4 separate regions of the Homo sapiens genome follow, and all the other regions are linked to region 1. Evidence: promoter capture Hi-C in 16 types of primary human blood cells and fetal thymus (Javierre and others, 2016). All regions are on one chromosome and are shown on one strand. The core of a region is centred on a gene start or on the middle of the fragment in contact, and the rest is flanking DNA. Distances in the headings are between cores, read along the strand shown. Region 1 holds the start of TOP1 (DNA topoisomerase I). Region 2 has its middle 48 kb from the start of CHD6. Region 3 overlaps LOC105372618 (a long non-coding RNA gene). Region 4 has its middle 8.1 kb from the start of CHD6.

The links. Contacts are between HindIII fragments. The CHiCAGO score rates a contact against its expected background, and 5 or more counts as called.
Region 2: a contact is called between a fragment that was not itself captured here and the fragment with the promoter of TOP1 in region 1, in 1 of 17 cell types (erythroblasts). The highest score is 5.7, in erythroblasts.
Region 3: a fragment that was not itself captured here is called in contact with the fragment with the promoter of TOP1 in region 1 in 1 of 17 cell types (neutrophils); the score reaches 6.2 in neutrophils.
Region 4: a contact is called between a fragment that was not itself captured here and the fragment with the promoter of TOP1 in region 1, in 1 of 17 cell types (non-activated CD4 T cells). The highest score is 5.5, in non-activated CD4 T cells.

Annotation. Positions count from the first base shown.
Region 1 is chr20:41,024,625-41,031,433 of GRCh38, reverse strand. It overlaps TOP1 (DNA topoisomerase I), which reads right to left and starts at 2,612. Exons shown (of 21, transcript NM_003286.4): 1 at 2,334-2,612; 2 at 1,979-2,003. The coding sequence starts at 2,366. LOC100128988 (a long non-coding RNA gene) reads right to left here. Exons shown (of 3, transcript NR_145525.1): 3 at 6,038-6,809. RefSeq lists silencers at 2,272-2,341, 2,562-2,913. The HindIII fragment of the contact is 6,355 bases long and covers 1-3,561 here.
Region 2 is chr20:41,663,620-41,669,519 of GRCh38, reverse strand. No RefSeq gene overlaps it. Among named protein-coding and RNA genes, the nearest start is that of CHD6, 48 kb to the right of the region's middle. The HindIII fragment of the contact is 1,418 bases long and covers 1,513-2,930 here.
Region 3 is chr20:40,458,972-40,465,032 of GRCh38, reverse strand. It overlaps LOC105372618 (a long non-coding RNA gene), which reads left to right. Exons shown (of 3, transcript XR_936718.3): 2 at 592-713. Among named protein-coding and RNA genes, the nearest start is that of MAFB, 230 kb to the left of the region's middle. The HindIII fragment of the contact is 3,937 bases long and covers 2,454-6,061 here.
Region 4 is chr20:41,623,437-41,629,472 of GRCh38, reverse strand. No RefSeq gene overlaps it. Among named protein-coding and RNA genes, the nearest start is that of CHD6, 8.1 kb to the right of the region's middle. The HindIII fragment of the contact is 674 bases long and covers 1,870-2,543 here.

The sequences.
Region 1 (6,809 bases), core at 1,363-3,862:
GGTGAGAACCATGTAAGTTAACTTTCTCACAAGAAAGGGCTAAACTTTGTTTCATTACTTACATTACCTACTCAGCCCAGCCTGACAGCCAAAAGAACACATTCCATATTAAAGATCCCACCTTCCTCTAGCAAGGTCAAAAGGACTTCTTACATCCTCACCTGCACATCCTTTCTTTGCTCCTGTATCCCAAAGAAACATGTCTATACTGTGGCTTTCTAAACTGCAGGCCTCACCTCCTCCCTCTTTTAAAATCGTGATAGGTTGGTTAAACGTACTTAAGAAACACTCCAACCCCTGACAATTCTCTGCGCCCAGTCTTCCACAACCCCCAGCTCAGAAGTCACCTCCTCTGAGAAATTTCCCCACCCTCAGACAAAATTAACTCCCCTATACTTCAAAGCATTTTGGGTACACATATGCCCCAGTAGTTACCTTATAATTAACTAATTATGTCTCCCCCAATAGACTGAATTGAGAGCAAGGGAGTGTTATGGTTACAGGATCAGCTCTAGCACCAAGCACAGTGGTTGGCACATATCTGGTGCTCAAGAAATGCCATACTTTAAACCAGATTCTCTCCTGGCTGAGTACCATCTCCTGCTGGATGCCCCACTTCAAACTCTGAACATAAGGTTGCTCTCAGTAGAGCAGGCTAACATGATGGACTGCTGATTACAACATTAGAAAACCTACTCATCAACTTCTCCCATTGGAGAGGTTCCCGGAACCCAAACTCAATTGAGCAGGATTATGTACCATCAAAATCAGTGGGAATTCCCAGCACACTACAGAAGGTAACTTCTCCTTCAACAGGGTTGTTCGAAAGCCTGCAAGGATGAGCTTTTTATTGGAGGACTCTTCCCTGGGTAACTGAAGTGGAAATACAGTAAGAATAAATGCCTTGATTTGGCTGAAAAGGGTTCAAAAACATAAAGAATTGGGAAAAAAAAAAAAAGCCAGTTCTTGATTCCTGAAAAACAGTGGCTCGTGAAAAAGAATGAACAGGAAGCAGGGGTGGGTACTGGACACTCTTTGCTTCAATAAATAAAATCTTTTTTTCCTCCTTACAACCCAAACGAAAAGGCCAACACACCAGGTCCACAAGAGATGCTCAACAATCTTTCCTTCCAACAAGTACACTAAACTGCGTTTCCAGAAAAACACTGCATTGGGAACCTCGACCACAATGAAAAGTTCCAGTGACTAACATAATTTTTTAAAAATCCAACATTTACATTGGGTGACCCACAGAGAACTTGCAAACTTTCTTTAGGGAGGTACTGCTACCTTTGCAAAGAACGTAACTTGGGAAAAACAACCTGGAAATATAAAGAACTCCACAAAGCGTGGCTTTAGTTTTAGAGCCATAATTCCTATCATAAACAGCCTATCAAAAAAAAAATTAACAGTTGCTTAAGGAAATCTTTCATTCTGGAAGCAGAAAAGGAAACAAACATGAAGCATAAAGGGAATAACCCCCAAAATAAAGTTTAAAAAATAATAATTCAGTCCCCCAGCCTTCCCTCTCTGGTGAAGTATGTGATTTATACGGCTTTGCTCTGCAGAAAGCTCATTCTGGGCAGCTCAAGGAAAGAGCCGAGGGAGGGAGAGAAAGAGACACAGGCACAGAAAGGAGAGGAGAGAGAAAAAGAAAATGGCGCAGAGACTAAGTCCCGACCGTCGACAAGGCGACTTTCCCGGGAGGAATCCCGGCCCGGAAAGACCGCCCGAGGCCCGGTGGCGGACGACACGGGGTCTCCGTTGTCCCCTCTTGGGAGGGCCGGGATCTGGAGGAGCTGGGGTCCCCGGAAAGGGGGTCAAGAGGCGGCCCGATGGGAACAATGGGGCCGGTGAGCGAGGAGCCGGGACTTAGTCTCTGGGACGCCATGTCTGTCCTCTGCCCGGCACCGGCAGGGCGCGGGGGAGGCGGCCGGCGGCTGGGGGGCCCCGGAGTCGGCGCAGGGGGCACACTCACCATTCAATCGGAAATCCGCTTCGATCTGGAAAAAGAAAAGGAGAGAATATCAAACAACAGCCACTTTAACCCCTCCGGCGGCGAGCGCGCGCGGCCGGGGTCTGGCTCACCCTGCGCCCCCGGGGAGGACGGGGACCCGGGGGTGGCCACAGAGGGCAGCCATCCCTGCCTCGAACTGTAACTTCGCGGCCCTCGCTCGCGGCCTAGCGAGCCGATCTACTCCGGCAGGCGGCCCCTCACCGGGGGCTCCGGCCTGTCAAAGCTGCCGGGCCGGGGCTGGGGTCGGGGCCTGCGCCGGGGGTCGCGGGACGGCCAGGCCGGGGTCCGGGGCCGCCAGGGTCAGGCCGGGCCGTACCTGGGAATCGTTGTGGAGGTGGTCCCCACTCATGTCGGCCCGGAGGGACGAGCGCGGCGGCAGGCGAGGCGGCGTGGGGGAGACGCAGACGGCGAACCGGCCTGTGCGGGCGGACGGGGACTCCGGAGGCTCGAGGAGGCGCAGGTAAGCGGCGGTGACTGTGGGCCCGAGACTCCAGAAACGGCTGAGGCTGCTACCACGGCGGCGACGCTGCCTGACTGCCGGGCGGGCGGCGAGAACAGACCCCAGCAGTTGTGTAACAGCCTAAGTTCGCATTTGGGCTCACTGCGCCTGCGCGGCCGCTTTTAAACAACACGTCGGCGACGTCAGCGCTCGCGGAAAGAGGCAGAGGGTTGCGGCCCGCCCCCTCGCTGTTCGCCAGACGGACCTGTCTTTGCATCGCAAGCCCCGCCTCCGGACCGTGCGCGCTCCGCTGTGATTTGCATAAGGAGCCGACTCCTCCCACGGCGTCCCACCCCAAGCAGCCTCCCCTTCCTCTCCAGACGCTTTTTCTCGGAACCCCAGCCCCTCTGCTAGGCAGTGCGCAGGCGCCACCCGGGCACCGCCTCCGGACCAGGGCTGGCCGCGCAGCCACGTGGTGGGCCTTTAAAGGCCGCGGCGGGACCCAGCAATCTTGGGCAGAGCTGGTATCCGGCGTCCGCATCTCCTTGGAGCGGCGAGTACCTTGGCAGCTGGGACCCCAGAGGTCTCCCCAGCGCCTCCTTTCTTGCTAAGCCGACCCTGAGGCCGCCTGGTGGGAGGAGTCCCCTCCCCAGCCTTTGTCCAGGCCCTCCAACTTCTGGATTATTTCACGCCCACTTTTTAAAAATTATTTTAATTTTTCAACCAACCAAGGGTCCGGTTTAACCCCAGTTTTCCGCCGAGTACATGTAGCCCTGGGTCACCAAGGGTCTGATTTCTTTGGTTCATTCTACAAATACTTATTGAGCATCCGCTATGAGCCCAGGAATTGTGCTGAGGGAAGGGGGAATGCAAGAGACCAAAGGGAACTGAACCTGTCTCTATCCGCCCCTGTATCCCTGGCATGCTGGGAGGACGGGGCAAATGGGGAATAGAACTACCGTTTATAGAGCATCTATTCTGTGCCCAGCTCTGAATTCTCACAATAGCTCTGTGAGGTCGCCTGTATTACAAAAGTCAAACTGTCCTAAAGACAAGGGACCAACAGCCAGCTACCTTGCATCTATAGTTGGATACCTCTCAAGCTTCTCTGGGAATGAACTGAACTCCACTCAGCTAGAAAAAGCCCCATCCTGACACCTTCCTTTCCCTCATTTCCCACTAGTCCCGCTGATTGCATCTCTTTGCTTCATCTACTTCTCTCTGCTGCCCATAAGCCTTTGAAGTCTGCGTTCTCCTGCTTGGATTAATACAATGTGCTGGCTGGGGGTGGTGTCTCACACTTGTAATCTTAGCACTTTGGGAGGCCGAGGCTGGCAGATCACTTGAACCCAGGAGTTCAAGACCAGCCTGGGCAACATGGCAGAACCCTGACTCTACAAAAAAATACAAAAACTGGCGGGGTGTGGTGGCATGTGCCTGTAGTCCCGGCTACTCGGGAGGCTGAGGTGGGAGGATCACCTGAGCCCGAGGAGGAGGTCGAGGCTGCACTGCACTCCAGCCTGGGCAACAGAGTGAGACCTGGTTTAAAAAAAACAAAAAACAAACCAACAAAAAACACCGCACTCCAAAACACTACACTTCTAACAGGGATTGCTGCTTCCATTCTTGGCCCTCTCGTAAACTGCATTCCAACAATTGCCAAAGTGATCTTCTCAATATGCTAATCTAACCATTACTCCTTTGTGGATATTGCCACATCTATTACCACTTTCACTATTATTATTTCATATTTTAATTGATCTCCTTTTTATTTACCTTCATCCTAAGTGTTATCTGTGAAATAATATCTATGAAATCATTTGGAAGTAAATATGAAAACTGTTCATCCAGTGGACCATCAGTATCTTTATCACATCTAATGTTTACCATCACATGTTTACCATTAGATGTGTTTACCACATCTTGTGAATGCTTCAAGATCAACCTAAATATCACTTTTTCAAAGTGACTCTCCGGCGCACTACTGACCCTGCTTCCACTGGCTGACCAAGGGTGCCTTATAGGCCAGGCGCGGTGGCTAACGCCTGTAATCACAGCACTTTGGGAGGTCAATGTGGATCAATCACTTGAGGTCAGGAGTTCAACAACAGCCTGGCCAACATGGTGAAACCCTGTCTCTACTAAAAATACAAAAATTAGCAGAGTGTGGTGGTTCACACCTGTAATCCCAGCTACTCGGGAGGCTGAGGCAGGAGAATCGCTTGAACCTGGGAGGCAGAGGTTGCAGTGAGCCGAGACCGCACCACTGTACCCCAGCCTGGGCAACAGAGCGAGTGAGTCTCAAAAAATAAATAAACAAATAAAAATAAAAGGTGCCTTATAGTATCTATCTCCTTTGTAACACTTATGACACTTGTTATTAAGTTACAAATGTAGTAATTGGTTTCCTGTCTATTTCCCCTATAGCAAGCAAGGTCTGTGAGAGGGGGGAATCTTGTCCATCTTGCCTACCACTGAATTCCCAGCACCCAGCAACAGGCCCTCCTACAGAAGAGGTGCTCAAGAAATGGGCAAATCAAAGCAGGTTACCCTGCTTTGGTTAGGAGCACACATTTGGAAGTCAAATCAACTTAGGTTTGAATTCTGCTCTGCTGTTTGTTACCTGTGTGATATCAGGCAAGTTGTTTAACTTCTCTGAGTCCCTGTTTCCTCATCCACTCCATGGTGATCATTGTGGGTATGTAATGACTATCAAAAAATAATGGTTTGAGGGCAGGCACCTAGTAAGTGCTGAGTCTTGGATTCATACTCAGGTCGGCCTGACTCCAAAGCTATACTCTTTCTCTGAAGCAAGCTGCCAGAGCCAGTTTTGCCTTGCTGTTGGTGTCTCTTCTCATACTCTTCCCATCTCAGGATCAATCCCTGGCCAGAAGATGAGGCATCTGCTTGCTGCAGTGAGTCCAAGATAATTTGAGGACGGCCTTCAGGAATAACAATGCATCCACACTACTCCACTCTCCCAACCCCCCGTTTCCCAGGGAGAATCTGCATTTGCTTTTTTTTCTTTTTTTTTTTTTTTTTGAGATGGAGTCTCTGTCACCCAGGCTGGAGTGCAGTGGTGCCATCTGGGCTTACTGCAACCTCCGCCTCCTGGGTTCAAGCAATTATCCTGCCTCAGCCTCCCGGGTAGCTGGGATTACAGCCACGTACCACCACACCCAGCTAATTTTTGCAATTTTAGTAGAGACAAGGTTTCACTATGTTGGTCAGGCTGGTCTCAAACTCCTGACCTCGTGATCTGCCCACCTTTGCCTCCCAAAGTGCTGGGATTACAGGCATGAGCCACTGTACCCAGCCTGCATTTGCTTTCCAGGCCCCTCCAAAGAAGACTAGGTAGGCATGAAAACAGCACAGACTTCACAATGGCAGACCGAGGACATCCCCGTGCACAGACATGGAAATATCCGGGCAGTCTTGTCACAGGCTGAACTTCTCTGCCAGCATGTGTGGCTGGCAGTGCTCAGAGGTTGACTGACTTACTCTGTCTTACAGAGACCACTCCTGACTCCTAACACTTCAAACACATGTCCCCACCATATGGTACTTGAGGAGATTATTGATAGTGCATGGACAAGCATTTTAATTCTAATAGATATGTATTTCGATGTGTATGAGAAAAAATAACCATTGTTTTAAGGATATAACTGGGATGAGGCTTTTTAAAAAAGTGATTGATTTACATAAAAACATATAGGAATAGTGCACAGAGCGGACATATAAGACAAACTCCAGGAAGGCTATAGGCAAATAAATGAGGTTTGGGAAACACTGCTTTAAATCAAGACTGTTCACTCATGGACCATCCCAACCCTTATAAAAATAACTAGCAGGTGAAAACTGGTAGTGTAGGTCTGTCTCCAAAGTATGCATTGGGAACAGTGGACGGTTTATAGATAATCCACTAAAAGAAGAGCTCCACATACAAATACATACATTATTATATTTACAGTTAAACAGGTTTTTTCCCAGGTGCCTTCTCAGGGTCTTCCATATGTAAATACTTACGTGACTCTTGAAAAGAGGGACATGGTGTGCAGCATCTCCAAAATGTAGGCAAACCCGGCCAGGAGCGGTGGCTCATGCCTGTAGTGCCAGCACTTTGGGAGGCCGAGGGCGGGGGTGGATCACCTGAGGTCAGGAGTTCGAGACCAGCCTGGTCAACATGGTGAAAACTCGTCTCTACTAAAATTACAAAAATTAGGCCGGGCGCAGTGGCTCACGCCTGTAATCTTAGCACTTCGGGAGGCCAAGGCAGGCAGATCACCTGAGGTCAGGACTTTGAGACCTGCCTGGCCAACATGGTGAAACCCTGTCTCTACTAAAAATAGAAAA
Region 2 (5,900 bases), core at 972-3,471, 640 kb before region 1:
ACTGGACTTCTTTGAGATCATACAATTTCAGATTTAAAATGGGGTCATGTGTTTTTCCAGGGTCCCTGAAGACATTCACATTCTGAATATCTCTGCAGATCAAGTGGTTTCTTAAGGACCTAATCCCCTTTCTGCAAACTTCAATATTAATGTATCTCTCAATTTGTTCATCAACACATGTGCCAAGCCTAGTAATGACCTTGGACCACACCTTGGCGATTTAGAGCCTTTCCAGAATCATGGGCGACTCCGTCCTTTTTATGGGCTCAATTTTAGTATTTGGTATTTTTAAAATCAAAAATAAAATGGAAGTTTTTAAGTACTATGAGACAGAATGTGATCAAAGATCATTCCACCACCCATTTGTTCTTTACCCAGACAGTACCAAGCAACGTTGAACACTCACCTACACCGCCTTCAGTCTCTGTTGGTTGAGACTTCTCCTTTTTTAAAATATCTAAACAGCTTCAGATGTCCTGTAATTTTTAGAACACTTCACTGCTTCAAAGAAAGGAGGTGTCTGGGCCTCTTTTACTCCTCTCCTAGGGTAGAATTCGTGGGCCATGGTGCCCACCCATATTCTTTTACCTCATTTAAGATAGGTTGAATGGACTGGCCCCTCTTTATTACCCAAAGACAACATGAAAACAAGCATTATGTTTTTCACTTGCTGCAATATATGCTCACAGATCTTGGTGTAACTTGCTCAATAATCACAATTTTTAGCTGTAAGACAAGTGTCAAGGCAGGTGTTTTTTAGCTCCTCAAAGTTCTCCCAGAACATTTACGTCCACTTGGAAGTTCATAATCTAATGTGGGATACAAGCACATCAATCAGATAATCATAATATAGTATAATAACAGCTTTTAAGCAGTTGTACTATAGGTGGGATTTGGGGGGGAGAACTCAGAGAATAAAGGGCAAGAGACCTTGAAAGCTATGCATCTGGCAGCTACTGCTGCATAACAAACACTGCAGCAACCTCAGTGTTGAACAATACATATTTGTAAGTTTCTCATCCAGGTGACTGGAGGTTTGCTATGCATTGACTCTGACTTTGTCTAGGCTTATACAGGCTGCACTCCAGGCCATGTATTTGGCTCAAGTCTGTTCCATGCATTTGGGGCCTCCTTGTACCTGTGGCTACCTGGTCATCATGGCAAAAAATAGGCATGCAAGAGACTAAGCCCAACATGCAAGCACATTTTAAGCCTTTGCTCACATCATGTGTACTAACATCCCATTGGCCAAAGTAAGTCACATGGAGAAGCTCAAAGTCAAGATGAAAGGAAGAACATTCCTCCATGGATATGTAGTGAGAAACAGTGAATATTTGCTGAATAATAATCTAATCTACCATGAACCAGATCTTGAAGAACCAAGGGGTATTTGTTCTTCTCTAGAGAAGTGGAATATTCTGTTCCTTAGGAAGGACCACATCAGGAAAAGCAGACAGATACAAAGATGCAAGGTACATTTAGGAATTGTGGGTGACTCAAAGGGCAGAAGCTTAGGACACTTGTGACAGATGTTGAGGACACGTAGCAAGCAAGCTGAGGCAGGATCTCAGGGTTGGAGGAAACCCAAAAGGTCTAGACAACTTGGGGCACAGTAAGAGTCCTGCCTCCTTGTTGGTTTTTTTTGTTTTTGGTTTTTTATGGTTTTGTTTTGTTTTGTTTTGTTTTGTTTGAGACACAGTTTCACGCTGTCGCTCAGGCTGGAGTACAGCGTGCAATCTTGGCTCACTGCAACCTCTGCCTCCCAGGTTCAGGGGATTCTCCTGCCTCAGCCTCCTGAGTAGCTGGGACTACAGGCATGCGCCACCACACCCGGCTAATTTTTGTATTTTTAGTACAGACAGGGTTTCGCCATTTAGGCCAGGCTGGTCTCCAACTCCGGACCTCATGATCCACCTGCCTCTTCCTCCCAAAGTGCTGGGATTACAGGTGTGAGCCACGACACCCAGCCCTTGTTCGGTTTCCAGGGGACTCCTCCCCTATCTCTTGAAGTGTCTACTACCTGGTGAGGGGGAAGAAACTTTCATCAATCCTCTACGTTCTCTAGGCAAAAACATTACCTTCTCTTCACCATCCAAGTGTAGAACCCTACTAACCCTCCCTTTCCTCATCGCTTCTGCTACCCAGCATAGCATGTAATAAATCCTTATGGTATATAATCCAGAATGTGTAAGCAGCTGGAATTCTTTCCTGAAAATTATTTTTTTCTGATAAGGCATATTTATTGAAAGAATGACACAAAATGGTGAATGTTAAAGATCTACTGCCTGTCTCCAGAAATAGCCACACTTCACACTTCCAGATTATATGTAATATAATTACATAAATGGAATCATATTTTCTGTGGTTTAACCAGCTGTTTGATATCAACTTAAAACATCACCTATCACATTCTTTTTCATGACTGTGTAGTATTTTATTATATGGCTATGCCATCATTTATTCAATCCATCTCCCAATTTTAACCACTAGAAATAATACTCTAAAGGCTATCCTTGTAAATACATCTTTGTTTGCTGATCTAGTTAATTTCCCAAGTGTAAATTGCTAGAAGTACAATTTTTTGTTCAAATGTATACCCATTTTAAGTGTTCATACATATTGTCAAATTGCCTGCCAGATGGTTGTACCAACATGCATTCTCAGTAGTGGTGTCTGAAAGTGGCTTTTACTCACACACTCAACAGCGCTGGGTATGTAACACATTGTTGATATGAACAATTTTATCTCATTTCTTATTATAATAGAGCAATGACTTTTTTATTTCTTTGTAAAAAAATTTGAACTAGAATTCTCTTAGCAAAGCTATCAATAAGTATGAGGGTAGACCATCGATATTTTAGGAGAAAGGAATTATTAAAGATAAAAGCTAAGATGTCAAAATAACCAGACTTGATAAATAAAACTAAGCTTCTTCTTTAAAAAGACGAAAATGAAGAAGAAAAGGAAAAACTACTGTTAAGCATAAGCAAAAATTAAGAAATAAATCACAAGTAACACAATGCCAGGGCTCAGGAGTAGGGTCTTTATCTCCACATATTAAGAATAATTAAGCTATTTGAAAATTTTATGTTAAAATTGATGTTAATATACCTGAACATTTACCTAAAATGAATGGTATCCCATAAAAATATAAGCTCCTAAAATTGATTCTAAGAAACCTATATAGGCTAGATGCAGTAGCTCATGCCTGTAATCCCAGCAATTTGGGAGGCCGAGGTGGCAGGATCTCTTGAAGCCAGGAGTTCAAGACCAGCCTGGGTAACACAAAGAGACCCTGTCTCTACAAAACATGTTTTAAAAAATCAGCCGGGCATAATGGCAAGCACCTGCAGTCCTAGGTGCTTGGGAGGCTGGGCCAGGAAGATCCCTTGAGCCCAGGAGTTTGAGGCTACAGTGAGCTATCATAGTGCCCCTGTACCCCAGCCTGAGTAACAGAGCAAGTACATACCTCTAAAAACTAAAACAAAACAAAAGGAACCTATACTAAAATCCATTGATAAAACTGAAAATGTAAATAATCTATGCCCCTAGGTAATTCTGCCCCAGATGGTTTTATGAGTAGGTTCTAGGAAATCTTATTAAAAATACCATTTGTATGTTGTTTAAACTAGATATTTAAACTAGCATCAAAAAAGATCCAATTTCATTTTATAATGCAAAAATCTAACCAAGCACTTGCTGGTATGAAAGTCTTAAATAAAATATTAGTAAGTCATACCAAGCAGTATATTAAAAGAGTTATGTACCATGACCAAGTAGTGTTTATTTCAGGAAGAATGATTGGTTCAACATTAAGAAATCTTTGTTGAACTAAGCATCCTGTAATACATCAGATAGTGAAAGGAAAAAAACCATATGATCATCTCAATATATGCCCAAATGCATTAATTAGAGTATAACCTCCATTTCAGATGATGATAATAATGACAGTGATGACAAAAATAATGATAAACACCTTACTAAGCAAAGAACAGAGGGCCCAGGGACACTTTTTAAAATCAGAAGCCACAAGCAGCAAACTTAATGGTAAAACATTAAACAAATACTGGAGGCGTTTCTATTAAATGGGATGCTCACTATTATTGCCATTAATCAAAATGTTTCTGGAGTCTCAGAACAGTGCCATTAGGTAAGAAAAAAACAAAGGAAATACATATTAAAAGAAACAGCAAATTATTTGTATTTTCAGGCTACAGTCTTTTCTTCTTAGAAAATCCATGAAACCCAACAGAAAATATTACTGAAATTAATAAGAAAGGTCAATAAATTGGTTCAATACAAGAAATATAAATCTATGACTTTCTTATATTCCAAAAATAGCCACTTAGTAAATTGTACTAAAAAGAACTTCCATTCATAATTGCAACAATAACTGTAAATAACTGTGTGTAACTATGACCAGAAATACAGAAAACTTACATGAAGAAAATTCTAAAATATTCCAAACAAGATAAAAAGTTGGAGAGGTATACCACATTACATGGTATAAATATGTTAGCTTTCCCTGAATCACTTTATGGATTTAATACAGTTGCAGTCAAACTACCCAGGGGATTATTTTTGGAACTTGAAAGACTGATTCTTAAGTTGTCTACAAGAATGCATGCGTGCAAAGCGTCACGAAATTTTTGGGTGGGATCATAGCCACACAGAATAAAGACTACATTTCCCATTCTCCTTTGCAGCTAGATGTGTTCATGTGACTAAGTTCTGACCAATGGGAGCATTTTGTTGCGCATCCAGAAATCTTTAAGAGACAATTTACATATACCCTTTCTCCTTCCTCTTTCTCTAACCTGCTACATGGAACGTGAAGTCTGAGGATGAAACTGTGCAGGCTGGACTTTCAAGATGTTCACATTCTAGTAATGGCAGAGCAGAAAGCTGGAAGGAGCCTGGGTTCCAGAGATTTTCATGAAAGAGAGAAACCACATCAGCTCCAGATTAACACGGAGCTTAACATGAGAGAGAAATGAACTACGTATCTTATTTGAGCCATTGTTATTTTGGGCTTTCTTTGCTCATAGGTGAATCTAATACTATTAAAATAACCCTTCGTATTTCCCCCCATGCTTATATAATTATTTTCAGACCTATACAAACAAACGTACACACACATAAGTTTTATACAGTTTTCTGTCATTGTTTTCTGGGAGAAAAAAAAAACCTTTCTTCATCTTGTTTTTTCTCAGTCAATACATTGTGAAATATTATCCATGTTCATTGGTATAGCTCTAATTCATGGTTTTCATTTTTTGTTTGTTTTGAGATGGAGTCTCACTCTGTCGCCTAGGCTAGAGTGCAATGGCAAGATCTCGGCTCACTGCAACCTCCACCTCCTGGGTTCAAGCAGTTCTCCTCCCTCAGCCTCCCAAGTAGCTGGGATTACAGGCACCTGCCACCACGCCCGGCTAATTTTTGTATTTTTAGTAGAGATGGAGTTTCACCATGTTGGCCAGGATGGTCTCGAACTCCGGACCTCAGGTGATCCACCCGCCTCGGCCTCCCAAATTGCTGGGATTACAGGTGTGAGCCACCACACCCAGCGTAATTCATGTTTTTTGATGGCTTCAAAAAAAGTATCAAAATGTATGCCCTTATTCTCCCATTAGTGGGCATTAGCTTTCTTTCTGGGTTTTTTTTTCCCCTTCACAATTAACAAGCAATACATCTACATCCTTGCATACTGGTGCTCTTGTTTCTAAGAGATAGAATCCTAAGAGTAGGCTAGCTGGGTGAAGGATATATTAATTTTAAATTTTAATAGCTATTACTAGGCTTTCCAGAAAGCCTGCATCACTTAGATTTCCATTGGCAATGTATGAGAGACACTTTGCTACATCCCCACCCGCAATAGCTCCTTTTTACTTTTTTGCAGT
Region 3 (6,061 bases), core at 3,173-5,672, 570 kb after region 1:
ACAAAAAAAAAAAAAACCCAAAAAAAACAGGGAACCATGGGGTTGAACACTCATATTGGGCAATGCATATAAGGTTCATAAAATTAACTGGAAGCTGTCTCTTGATGCAGTTCCCTACTCATTGAACTCATGTGACTTGAATAAATCACTAAGACTCTTGATGTTCTGTTTTGTTCTTTGTGCAAAAAGAGAACACTCTATTGTCTTTGGTTCACAGTGGTCAACTCTAGAGAGTCTTCCATCTCCTGAGTACAGGGGAGAGGCATAATGGGCAGTCCACAGCAGCACTGAATCCAGGAGTCCCTGACTCATGGGAAGGGTTGAGGAATTTCTCAGGACCTGGGGTTAAATGGCAGCAGCAGTCTGTCCCATGGCCTCATTTTGGACGCAATGCCAAGCTTTCATCCACAAACTCACAAGTTCATGCTTTTATTTAGAGTGTGGGCATAGCACGGATTCAGGGTCAGAAAGGTCGAGTTGGATCTTTCTTGCTCTTTATTTACCTGCTAAATGACCTTATAAAGGTCCTCATGTTGTCAAGTCTCAGTGTATTCTTCTGTTACATGGGTCTAATCTTCCTTTCTTCTTTAGACAGCTGTTGTGACAGTAAAGTGAGACCCTTGTAGCAAAAGCACTTTTCGGACTCCATGATGTTAGGAAACTGCAAAACACCTTCTTCTGAGTCCAGAGACTGGAAAATGAACTCTTGTGTGGTGAGAATGAAAAGATCCCTTTCTTTTATTTATTTAGCACACATGAAACATGTATATGTATTCATTATACGCCAGGGACTCTTCTAAGTACTTGACAAATATTCACATATTTACATTCTCCTAATCACACGATGATAAATATACAACTGTTGTCCCTGTTTTCCAGATGAGAAAACTGTGGCACAGAAAAGTTAAGTAACTTGCCTAAAGCCACATAGCTAGTAAGTAGCAGAGCCAGGATTCAAACCTAGGCGCTATGGCTATAGAGCCCATGCTCTTCACCATTACATCATGTTAACTTCTTTGCTTGGGATGTTTGGTAGAGCAAAGATAACTTGAGAAGTACAACAGACTGATAGTGAATCTTAGTCCTGCCATTTAGCTGTGTGGCCTTGGGAAGGTTAATTAAATTCTCTGAGCCCTTACTCCCTTATCTATCAAACGAGAATACAAATGTCCATATCAGACAAGTTTTGCAAAGGTTAAATTGAGGCACATTGTCTGGCACAGGCACAATGAGGTGCACAGGTAATGTGAGTTGGATTTGTAGGCAGGGCCTTACCTGAACTCGGCCTTAGCCATTTACTTGATTATGGTTGATTCGGACTTTTCCATGCTCTGCCCACCAGCCTGCTGGGTAACCACATACTTCAGAGTGTGAAGGACCCTGCCCATACCAACTCTAACACTCTCAGGGTGTCTGCCTTGCAGATTGGGGTAGGGAAGCTCTTGTTCACATGCCTGGGCTTGTCTAACAATTACAATTTTTCAGGCCCAGGGTGTCAGCTCCCAGGCTCCTGTTTCCTTTGGGCTCCAAAGAGCAAACAGGGCCCTGCACTTCTCTGTCCACCTCCCCTTCCAAAAACTTACTGGTTAATTTTAGGGTTGGGGAGAGGCTCTGACGAGGGCCTGCCCACGTGGGGTTAAGGTTACCAGTGGCCTCTGCCTCTGGTCAGGCTCGCTGGGAACAGCCGCAGTCACTTCCCGAAGCTCAGTGGGGGCAGGAGCTCGGCCAGGGCAGTGGGCAGTGGTTGGGCACAACATTTCCAAGATGTTGGGAGCCCTGCCTCAGCAGACCAGACCCACAGCCCACATTTTTGCAAAAGAGACACTGTCTTTTATCAGGCATAGCCTGATGCAGTTATATTTTTCATATCATTTTAACTCTAGAAATGGCCCAGCATTTACTACTGCAAAAACTTAATCATGTCTGCCTTACCTGAGGCCCCTTTAAAAGATAAATGCTGACAGATTATCTCAATAATAAGGAAGAAGTCTAGTCACAGTTCTTTACTCTCCATTAAAGGTCTCGCAAACCACGTATTGATTTTTTTAAAGAAAAGAAATTGGAAGAAGCATGTACCAATTAAGAATAAAACTAACAATTTATTACCCTTAGATCTTTAAGGCAAATAGGGAGTAGAAAAACACTTGCTTTTTTTCCTTCCCTCTATTGAGACATAATAATTAGGTAACTATGTAAATAACCTTGTATTAAAACCTGAGACAGCCTGCGGTTACTCAGGCTTCTGTACTGGATCATAAAGATCAGTTACTGCTCCTGGGTTCTCTGAGTTTTGCAAAGCTTTTCTCCCTTTTCTGAAGGGCTCTTAGAAAAATTGTTTCCTTCCCTTTTCTTTTGCTTTGAGCAGGCTGATCATAAGCTCATCTTCTTACTTGTTTGTAAGTTTACTGAATGAGCTCTTGGAGTTTCTTGTTTGTTTCTGTATTCCACAAGCTTTGATTGAGCACAAACTATGTGTTTGTGTTGCTCTTTATATTAGATGATGAACACTGTTACAGAGAAACATTGAGCAGGCAAAGAGGACATTGAGAATTTCCAGGACGGTAACACTAAGATGACGACAAATTTTTCATTGAAGTAGAAACTAAAAACAAGGAAAATATTTTAGAACTGATCTGTCATGTACATGTCTGGCCAGGCCACCCCATCTTTTTTGTGTGTGCAATGATTCTCTGCCGGATAAATATTTGTTAAATATGTAAATAAATGTCTCCCTCCATCTGAAAAGTAAGCACCACCAGGGTAGGCATTTTATGTTTTTTACTGATGTATCCCACACGCTGAGAACTATACCTGACACATATCAGGCCCTCCATTAATATATGTTGAATAAACAAAGAGTTGTCCTCAGTTCATGGATTTGTCTGGCATTCAAAAAGTTTTTTCTAATACCTACTTTAAGTCAGGAATTGGCCTAGGTGCTAGGAACACAAACACGATTGGCCTGGGGCTGCCTTTTTTGATCTTTCAGACAAGGGGAGGAGAGTGAGTTGATCAAGCTAACATAATACTATGTTGTTAAGTGTTAAGCTAGGAGGATGTTGAGATACTCTCTTGCAGAATATGGTAGGATACTTCAGCAAAACCTGTGGAGTGAAAGAATCGTGCTTAGGTAAAAAAAGGATTGAGATGGAGTGAGCAATTGAGTTCCAGGAACTAGAAGAGGAGGTCTAATGATTGAAAGTGACAGAAAACAAGGAGCCAGAGAAATGGAGGCTGCTGCTAGGCCTCGGGTGAGAAGCAGGGAGTGGTGAGATGAGGCTGGAAGAACAAGCAGAGGCCGAATTGTGCAGAGCCTCACATGGGGTTCAGATTTAATTTAAAGACAGCATGAAGCCATTGATGGGTTGCCAGGGGACCAGGGAGGTCAAATTTCTGTTTTGGAAAAATCCCTCTGGTTTCTAGGTATAGGATGGATTTAAAGGAGAGAGCCCAGGCCAAGAGGCAGCTAAGAGCTTCTCCTACAACCCAGGGGAGATGTGGTGGAGACCTGGATGAGAGTGGACAGGCTGTGGGCTGGAAGAACCAGAGAGATTTATGAGAGAAAGACTAACGGGTTGGGGGTTAGAGAGAGGTCAGAGTAGTGGGCGACTCTGAGGTTTCTGGTTTGGTCAACTGGGAAGATAGTTTGAAATAGTTCAGGTGCAGTGTGGGAGAGAAAATTGACATGGAGTCCATATGTATGTCTTGGGAGACCGAGAGGTTTATGGCTCCACTGAAATAATTCTTCAGTTTACTCTGAAGACACATGAGTGAGAAGGAGGAAAAAATGCAATTTAAAAAGTTGTGTTGACATGAATGCACATCCACACCAGATATCTGGAGACAAAGGGCATGGATGGATTGATGTCCTGCATTGTGCAAACTGGTGTCTACTTTGTTCAAATTCAAGAATTTTATCCAAATTTCTATATTACCCTGGAAGAATAATTTAAAACACAGTTGGACCAGGTGCAGTGGCACACGTCTGTAATTCCAGCACTTTGGGATTGCGAGGTGGAAGAATTGCTTGAGCCCAGCAGTTCAAGAGCAGCCTGGGCAACCCCAGGCTTTTGATAGTGAGACCCCATCTCTCTCTCAAAAAACATAAAACTCTCTATATCCATAAGTTTCACATCTGTGGATTCAACCAACTGTGGATCAAAAATATTGAAAACAAATTTAAAAAAGGATGGTTGCATCTGTACTAAACATGTGTAGACATTTTTCCTTCTTATTATTCTCCAAACAATACAGTATAACAACTATTTAGATAGCATTTACCTTGTATTAGGTATAAGTAATCTAGAGAGGATTTAAAGTATATGGGAAGATGTGCATAGGTTCTATGCAAATACTATACCATTTTATATTAGAGACTTGAGCATCTGCAGATTTTGGTTTCCACAGGGTGTTCTGGAACCAATCCCCTGAGGATACTGAGGGACAACTGTATTGTCTTGGATGGTCTCTGATGCTGTAGTATCAGTCCTCTTTCCGTGGCTGAGAGTGGGGTGGGTGAGAAAGGAATTGGGCTTACTGTATTTTTCAGCACACTGAACCTTTCCTTGCTTTTTGAATCATTTCCTTTTACTCTAATAATTTTGGAAGTATAATATTATGAAGTACAATATCAATATTGCACAAGGAATAACCCCACACTTAGAATTCATTCATTCATCCATCCATCTATCTGACCACTCACCAGTAATCTTTCCTTCCTTCCTTCCTTCCTTCCTTCCTTCCTTCCTTCCTTCCTTCCTTCCTTCCTTCCTTCCTTCCTTCTCTCCTTCCTTCCTTCCTTCATCCTTTCTTCCTTCCTTCCTTCCTTCCTTCCTTCCTTCCTTCCTTCCTTCCTTCCTTCCTTCCTTCCTTCCTTCCTTCCTTCTTCCCTCCCTATCTCTCTCCCTCCCTTTTTTTTTGACAGTCTTGCTCTGTCACCCAGGCTGGAGTGCAGTGGCATGATCTTGGCTCATTGCAACCTCTGCCTCCTGGGTTCAAAGGATTTTCATGCCTCAGCCTCCCAAGTAGCTAGGATTACAGGCACCCACCACCACACCCAGCTAATTTTTGAATTTCAGAGAGATGAGGTTTCACCATGTTGGCCAGGTTGGTCTTGAACTCCTGGCCTCAAGTGATCCATCTACCTTGGCCTTCCAAAGCGCTGAGATTACAGGCATGAGCCACTGCTCCTTGCCCGAGTTTTTGATCTGTAGCTTTGAAGACTTGGCTCCAGAACTTCCCTTTGCATCCCTGCAATGTCTGGTCCATGCCTGTTTATTCCTTCCTTCTACTCCTCATCCTATGTCCCTGTTGCTCTGAACCCAGAAAACTTGGAGGCCCAACATTCCCAAAGTGCAGAGAGGGCTGCCACAGCTCCCTTGACCCACAAGATCATCGAGCTGATGCAGCAGGAGTTTATTTCACTTGACTTCAATTTAACTGTCCTGAGCCCCTTCTTTATATTGCCAAGAGATTTCCTAACAGATATGTAACCCGGCGATTCAGGCAATTATTCACGTATTCCCCCACATCATTAGTTTTATGGAACACTGCCAGGGGGCATATTTTTCTTCCCTAGGACTCCTGAGAATAAAGGAAATAGAACTCTTACCATGAAGTCATATTAAGGAGTTTATTTCTCAGAAAATACCCCATAGCACTTTTATAAAATCTTGTGCAGATAGACTGCATTTAGGAAAAGTATTATTTTTACCTCACCTGCTGCCATGAGAATTGCTGTCCAGGCCTCCTGCCTTCCAGGACATGGCTTTTTAAAAAATTCTGGGGTATCTACTGACCACAAAGGGGTGCCCATTGTTAGTGTAAGGAAGACATGGTTTAGGCTGGATCTTGTTGGGCTTGGCTAGGGTGATATAATTTAATCATCCAAACCAGGATGTACTTTTGGACAGAAGGGTGCTATTATTAATTATATTGGCATAACAGGTATAAATTAGGGCCATCCAGGCCCATTGGGACATATGATTACCCTAGACTTTGTGCTCTACTCCTCCCACTTATTGAAACTTTTCTCCATCGGCTTGATCGATAAAGTAAAAAC
Region 4 (6,036 bases), core at 957-3,456, 600 kb before region 1:
TGAGGCTGCAGTGAGCCATGATCGCACCACTGCACTCCAGCCTAGGCAAAAGAATGAAATCCTGCCTCCAAAAAATAAAGAAAGTAGGCAAAGAACATGAACAAAGATTTCTCAAAAGAAGAAATATGAGTGGCCAACAAACATATATTAAAAAAAAACCTCGACATCACTAATCATCAAGACACAAATCAAAACCACAATGAAATACCATCTTACACCACTTAGAATGGCTATTATTAGAAAGTCAGAAAATAATAGATGCTGGCGAGGCTTCAGAGAAAAGGGAATACCTATACACTGTTGGTGGGAATGTAAATTAGTCTAGCCACTGTGGAAAGCAGTTTAGAGATTTCTCAAATAACTCAAAACTACCATTCAATCCAGCAATTCTACTACTGGGTGTATACCCCCCAAAAAATAAGTCATCCTACCAAAAAGACATGTGCACTCATACATTCGTCACTGCACTATTCACAAGAGCAAAGACATAGAATAACCTAGATGGCCATCCATGGTGGATTGGATAATGAAATGTGGTACATATACACCATAGAATACTATCTAGCCATAACAAAGAATAAAATCATGTCCTTTGCAGCAACATGGATGTAATTGGAGGTCATTATCCTAAGCTAACTAATGTAGGAACAGAAAACCAAATACCAAATGTTCTCACTTATAAGTGGGAGCTAAGCATTGGGTACAAATGGACATAAAGATGGGAACAATAGACACTGGGGACTACTAGTGGTGGGAGGGAGGAAGGAGGGAAGGACTGAAAAAACTCCTATTGTGTGCTATACTTACCACCTGGGTGACGGGATCATTCACACCCCAAACCTCAGCATCACACAATATTCACATGTAACAAACCTGCACATGTACCCACTGAATCTAAAATAAAAATTGAAATTATTTTTAAAAATTTTAAAAGCAGTGCTTAGTTCATATTAATTATGCAATAAAATTAGCTATTATGAACTGTCAATGTAACAGTGCATGTTTTAGTAACATGGGGGCATCATTCTCTTCAACTTTATTCCCTTCTGGCATATATTCCAAAAAGAAGCAAAAGAAGTGGTAGGAGCTGGACTTCCTGGCATCCAGAGATTTAACTACAATCATGAAAGCATAAGAATCATTCACAATAAATGGAATTGGATGGAGAAAAACAACTTACTGCCATCAGTTTCGTTCAAATTGCTGATGGTTGATCTGGAGTTTTCTGTTACGAACAGGCTTTGATACAAGTAGGCAATGCAAGTGATACGGTTTGGCTCTGTGTCCTCAACCAAATCTCATGTTGAATTGTAATTCCCAATGTTAGGGGAAGGACCTGGTGGGAGGTGATTGACTCATGGGGGCAGATTTCCTCCTTTTTGTTCTCATGATAGTGAATGAGTTCCCATGAGATCTGGTTGTTTAAAAGTGTGTAGCACTTCCCCTTTCTCTTTCTCTCTCTTTCTCTCTCTCTCTCCTGCCGCCACGTGAATATGTGCTTGTTTCTCCTTTGCCCGTCCACCATGATTGTAAGTTTCCTGAGGCCTCCCCAATCATGCTTCCTGTCCAGCCTGCAGTAATGTGAGTCAATTAAACCTCTTTTCTTGCTAAATTACCCAGTCTCAGGTAGTTCTTTATAGCAGTGTGAGAACAGACTAATACAGCATGTTTGCTGAATGGGACTGAAATGAGTCATAGAATAACCTAAAATATCTGGATGTAGATCATATGTTAAGAAAACACTTAAAATGTGGGGCAAATTTATACAAAGCACATTTTAAATATACAGTAACTTAATGATGGCTGTCAGTTGTATCACCCAAGGAAATACTGTTATCTATTGCTGCATTACAAATTATCTCCAAAGCTTGGTGGCTTAAAAACAACAATAAACATTTATTATCTCACATAGTTTTCATAGGTCAGAAATTTGAGAGTGACTTAGGTTTTCATGAGGTTGCAGTCAAAATGTTGGCTGGGGATGGATGCAGTCTCATCTGAAGGCTTGACTAGGCATGGAGGATCTACTTCCAAGATGGCCCATTCACATGGTTCCTGACAAGAGGCCTTGAGTTCTTGCCACAAAGACTTTTTCCATAAGGCTGACTGAATGTCCTCATGTCATGACAATGGACTCTTCCCATTGCAAATTACCCAAAACAGCAAGACAGATGCTGCAATGCCATTTATGACTAGCATTGGAAGTTACACTCTGTCACTTCTGCAATATCCTACTGGTTACATACATAAATCAGGTCTATTCAGTACAGGAGAGGGCAGTATAAGGGTTTGAATCACAGCAAGTGAGTATCACTGGGGGCCAACTGGAAGGACAGTTACCATGCTTCACCTCAGCAAAAACATGGAAACTAATTAATTTTTTAAAACTATAGTTTTTTGTTTCTAGTATGTAAAACTGTGTTGCTTATTTTTATTACCAGTTTTCAGACGGTAGCCTCACCAAATTGGTCAGTAATGTTGATGGTAGAATTGCACACATAAAGAAAAGGATTCTACAGCAACTTGAGGCTTAGTAAAAAGCTTAAGAACTTTTTTGTTGCTGTGGTTTTTTTTGTTTTTTTTTTTTTTTGTTTGTTTGTTTGTTTGTTTTTGGAGACAGAGCGTTGCTCTATTGCCCAGGTTGGAGTGCAATGGTGCTATCTCAGCTCACTGCAACCTCCGCCTCCCAGGTTTAGGTGATTCTCCTGCCTCAGCCTCCCAAGCAGCTGGGGTTACAGGCGCACACCACCATGCCCAGCTAATTTTTGTATTTTTAGTAGAGACAGGGTTTCACCATGTTGGCCAGGCTGGTCTCGAACTCCTGACCTCAAGTGATCCACCCGCCTTGGCCTCCCAAAGTGCTGGGATTACAGGCATGAGCCACAGCGCCCGGCCTTAAGCAAGTTTTTATGGCTGAAACTGTCTAATGGTCATTGCAGGAAAGTACACTGCTGAGCAAGAATGAAGGATTTACGAAGCTGTTTCAGGGTAGCGTGACCAGCGTTTTTGAAAAATCCTGCCCAAGAACATTTGAGGTGTGATTTTCCATAAATCATAGTAACTGAAAGGGACCACAGTCATTTTTATATATAACCTTGGATTTAAAAAATCAAAATAGCGGTAGTGCTATACATGGGTGAGAGTGAGAGCTCTGTGGCACTGTAAGAGTTAAATCAGTGAGATTAATACATGAGGGGTAGAGGCCATATATCAGTAGAAGGCACTCCAAAAGACAGAAGGTTCCCCAAGCCAAACACAAGAACAGAGATTGACTTCAGTTAAATCAATGGAATTAATATGTTTCAAAACCTGCAGGTCGACAAAGGGGGAAAGTCTATACAGAACACGGGGAAATGGGAGGCAGAGGAAAGGCTGCGATAATTATATATTAATAACCAATTTGTTGAGCAGTTGCCATGTGCAAAGCACTTTGCATGAATCATTTAATCCACACAACAACCCTATTATTGGAATCATGAAACTGTAAGTTAAGTGACTTTCTTTTTTTTTCTTTTTTTTGAGATGGAGTCTCACTCTGTCACCCAGGTTGGCATGCAGTGGCACAATCTTGGCTCACTGCAACCTCCATCTCGCAGGTTCAAGCAATTCTCCTGCCTCAGCCTCCTGAGTAGCTGGGATTACAGTGGTGTGTGCCACCAAGCCCAGCTAATTTTTCCATTTTTAGTAGAGACAGGGTTTCACCATGTTGGCCAGGCTGGTCTCAAACTCCTGACCTCGGGTGTTCCACCCACCTCAGCCTCCTAAAGTGCTGTGATTACAGGCATGAGCCACCATGCCTGGCCTGTTAAGTGACTTTCTTAAGGACACTAGTGGTAGAGCTGAGATTTGAACCACATCTGTAGGGCTTCAAAGCCTGTGGGCTTAACTAGTCTTATCCAGCTTTGTGCTGGAGAATGGAGCTTCTGGCAGGAGGATGCCTTGTGGCAGATTCACCCCTACAGTAGAGATACAGGGATTGGACCAGTGTAGTTCCAGAATACTGGCTATTAGCATCATCCCCTCAGTTCCAGGTTCCAGAAATCACCTTCTGATCATGTCTCCTCTTCCCACAGAGAGAGAACAAGGTCAGGGTCTGACAAGACAGGCTGGGCTGCTTGGCAGGTACAATTCTCAAGGGAACTAAAAAGGATATTTTTAAGATGTTTAATCATGAAATATTTCAAACATACAGAAAATAATATAAGAGATGGGCCGGGAGCAGTGACTCATGCCTGTAATCCCAGTGTGTGGGGAGGCCAAGGCAGAAGGATTGCTTGAGTCTAGGAGTTTGAGACCGGCCTGGGCAACACAGCAAGATCCTGTCTCTGAAGAAAAAAAAAAAGAGAGAGAGAGAGATGACTGAAAAGGTACCTTTACTGACAGTGCGTTGTGCTTGCTTCACAGTTTTCAAAAACTCTGAGAGATTAAAACACAGAGACTTTATCTAAGCACAAATAGGCCCAAGACCAGTGTGTCTATAAACTGGCTCAGACATGTTTGCAAGGGCAGCATTATTGGAAATAAGTATATGGCTTCTTAAGATATTACTTTGAAAGACAGAAATCAGAGTGACTACATTCTCACACACTTCAGAACTCAGCTCAAGGGCAGCTTTCCTGACCTCCTTGACAAAGGCAGATCCTTCTAGCATAATCTCTCACAGCATCTTATACCCCTCCTTTATAGCACACACTTACCACTGCTGTGATGTTACGTTTGTTCGCATGACTACTGGACTAATGCCTTTCTCTTCTATAGACTGCAAGCTCCATGAGGGCTGAGTTTGTGTCAAATTTTATTCACTACTGTATCCTTGGCATCTAGCACAATACTTGTCAGTAATAGGCACTCAATAAATGTCTTTTCAGTGAACGAATTCAGTTTTAAACACCAGTCTCCTTAGGCATCTACCCAAGAGAAATGACAACATATGTCCACACAAGGACTTCTACTTGAAGGTTTATAGCAGCATTATTCATAATAGTCCCAATGTGGAAACAATCCGAATGTCCATCATTTAGTAAGTGATAAATAAAAGGTGGCATATGCAGACAATGGAGTGGCATATGCAGACAATGGAATGCCATTCAAGCAATTTTAAAAAGTACAAACTGACAAAACACTCTACAACACAATGAACCACACAATTATTACATTAAATAAGCCAGACACAGAAGACTACATATTGTACTATTCTGTTTATACGAAATTTCTCAAAAAGGCAGAACTCCAAAGAAGAAAGCAGATCAATGGTTTCCCAGGCCTGGGGGTGGGAGTGGAGATTGACAGCAAGAGGGAACAAGGAACTTCTGAGGGTGACAGAAATATTCTAAAACTGGATTGTGGTGATGGTTGCACAACTGTATAAATTTACTAAACATCGTCAAACTGTATACTTGCAGTAAGCAAATTGTATGGTATGTGAATTATACCACAATAAAGCTGCTAAAAATGTTTAAAAAATCAATCTCCTTACTTAGTCATTTTATCCCAATTTAGGTTCTGTGGAACATTATTTCTGTGGGGCATTATGCCAGAAACTGCTAGTTGAGTCTCTCAACTCTTTAGTGACAGACCCAATTTTTAACTTGGCACATAGAAAAGCAAAATAAAAGACCAGATTTCCTAGCCTCCTTTGCAGCTTGGCATGGTCATGTGACCAAGTTCTGGACAATGAGACAAAAGTAAAATGTGTAGTATTTCCAGGAAGGTTGTTTAAGGGACTCAACTCCACTTTTTCCACTTTGCCTTTCCTTTTTCCTTCCAAGGACATGTAGACTGGTGCTCCAGCAGCCATCTTGGACCATGAAGTGACCTTGGGAATGAAAGCTAAGGATAATGGAGCAAAAACATTGAAGCCTGGATTCCTGAAGGTACCGGACAGCTGCCATGCCACCCCTGGACGGCCTGCTTCCCAAATTTCTTTTATTTAAGACAGAAATAAACTTTAATCTTATTATATCATTTTCTCATATTTATGCAGCCAAATTGAGTCCTAAGTGATACCAGTTTTTTTGTTGTTTTTTGTTTTTTGTT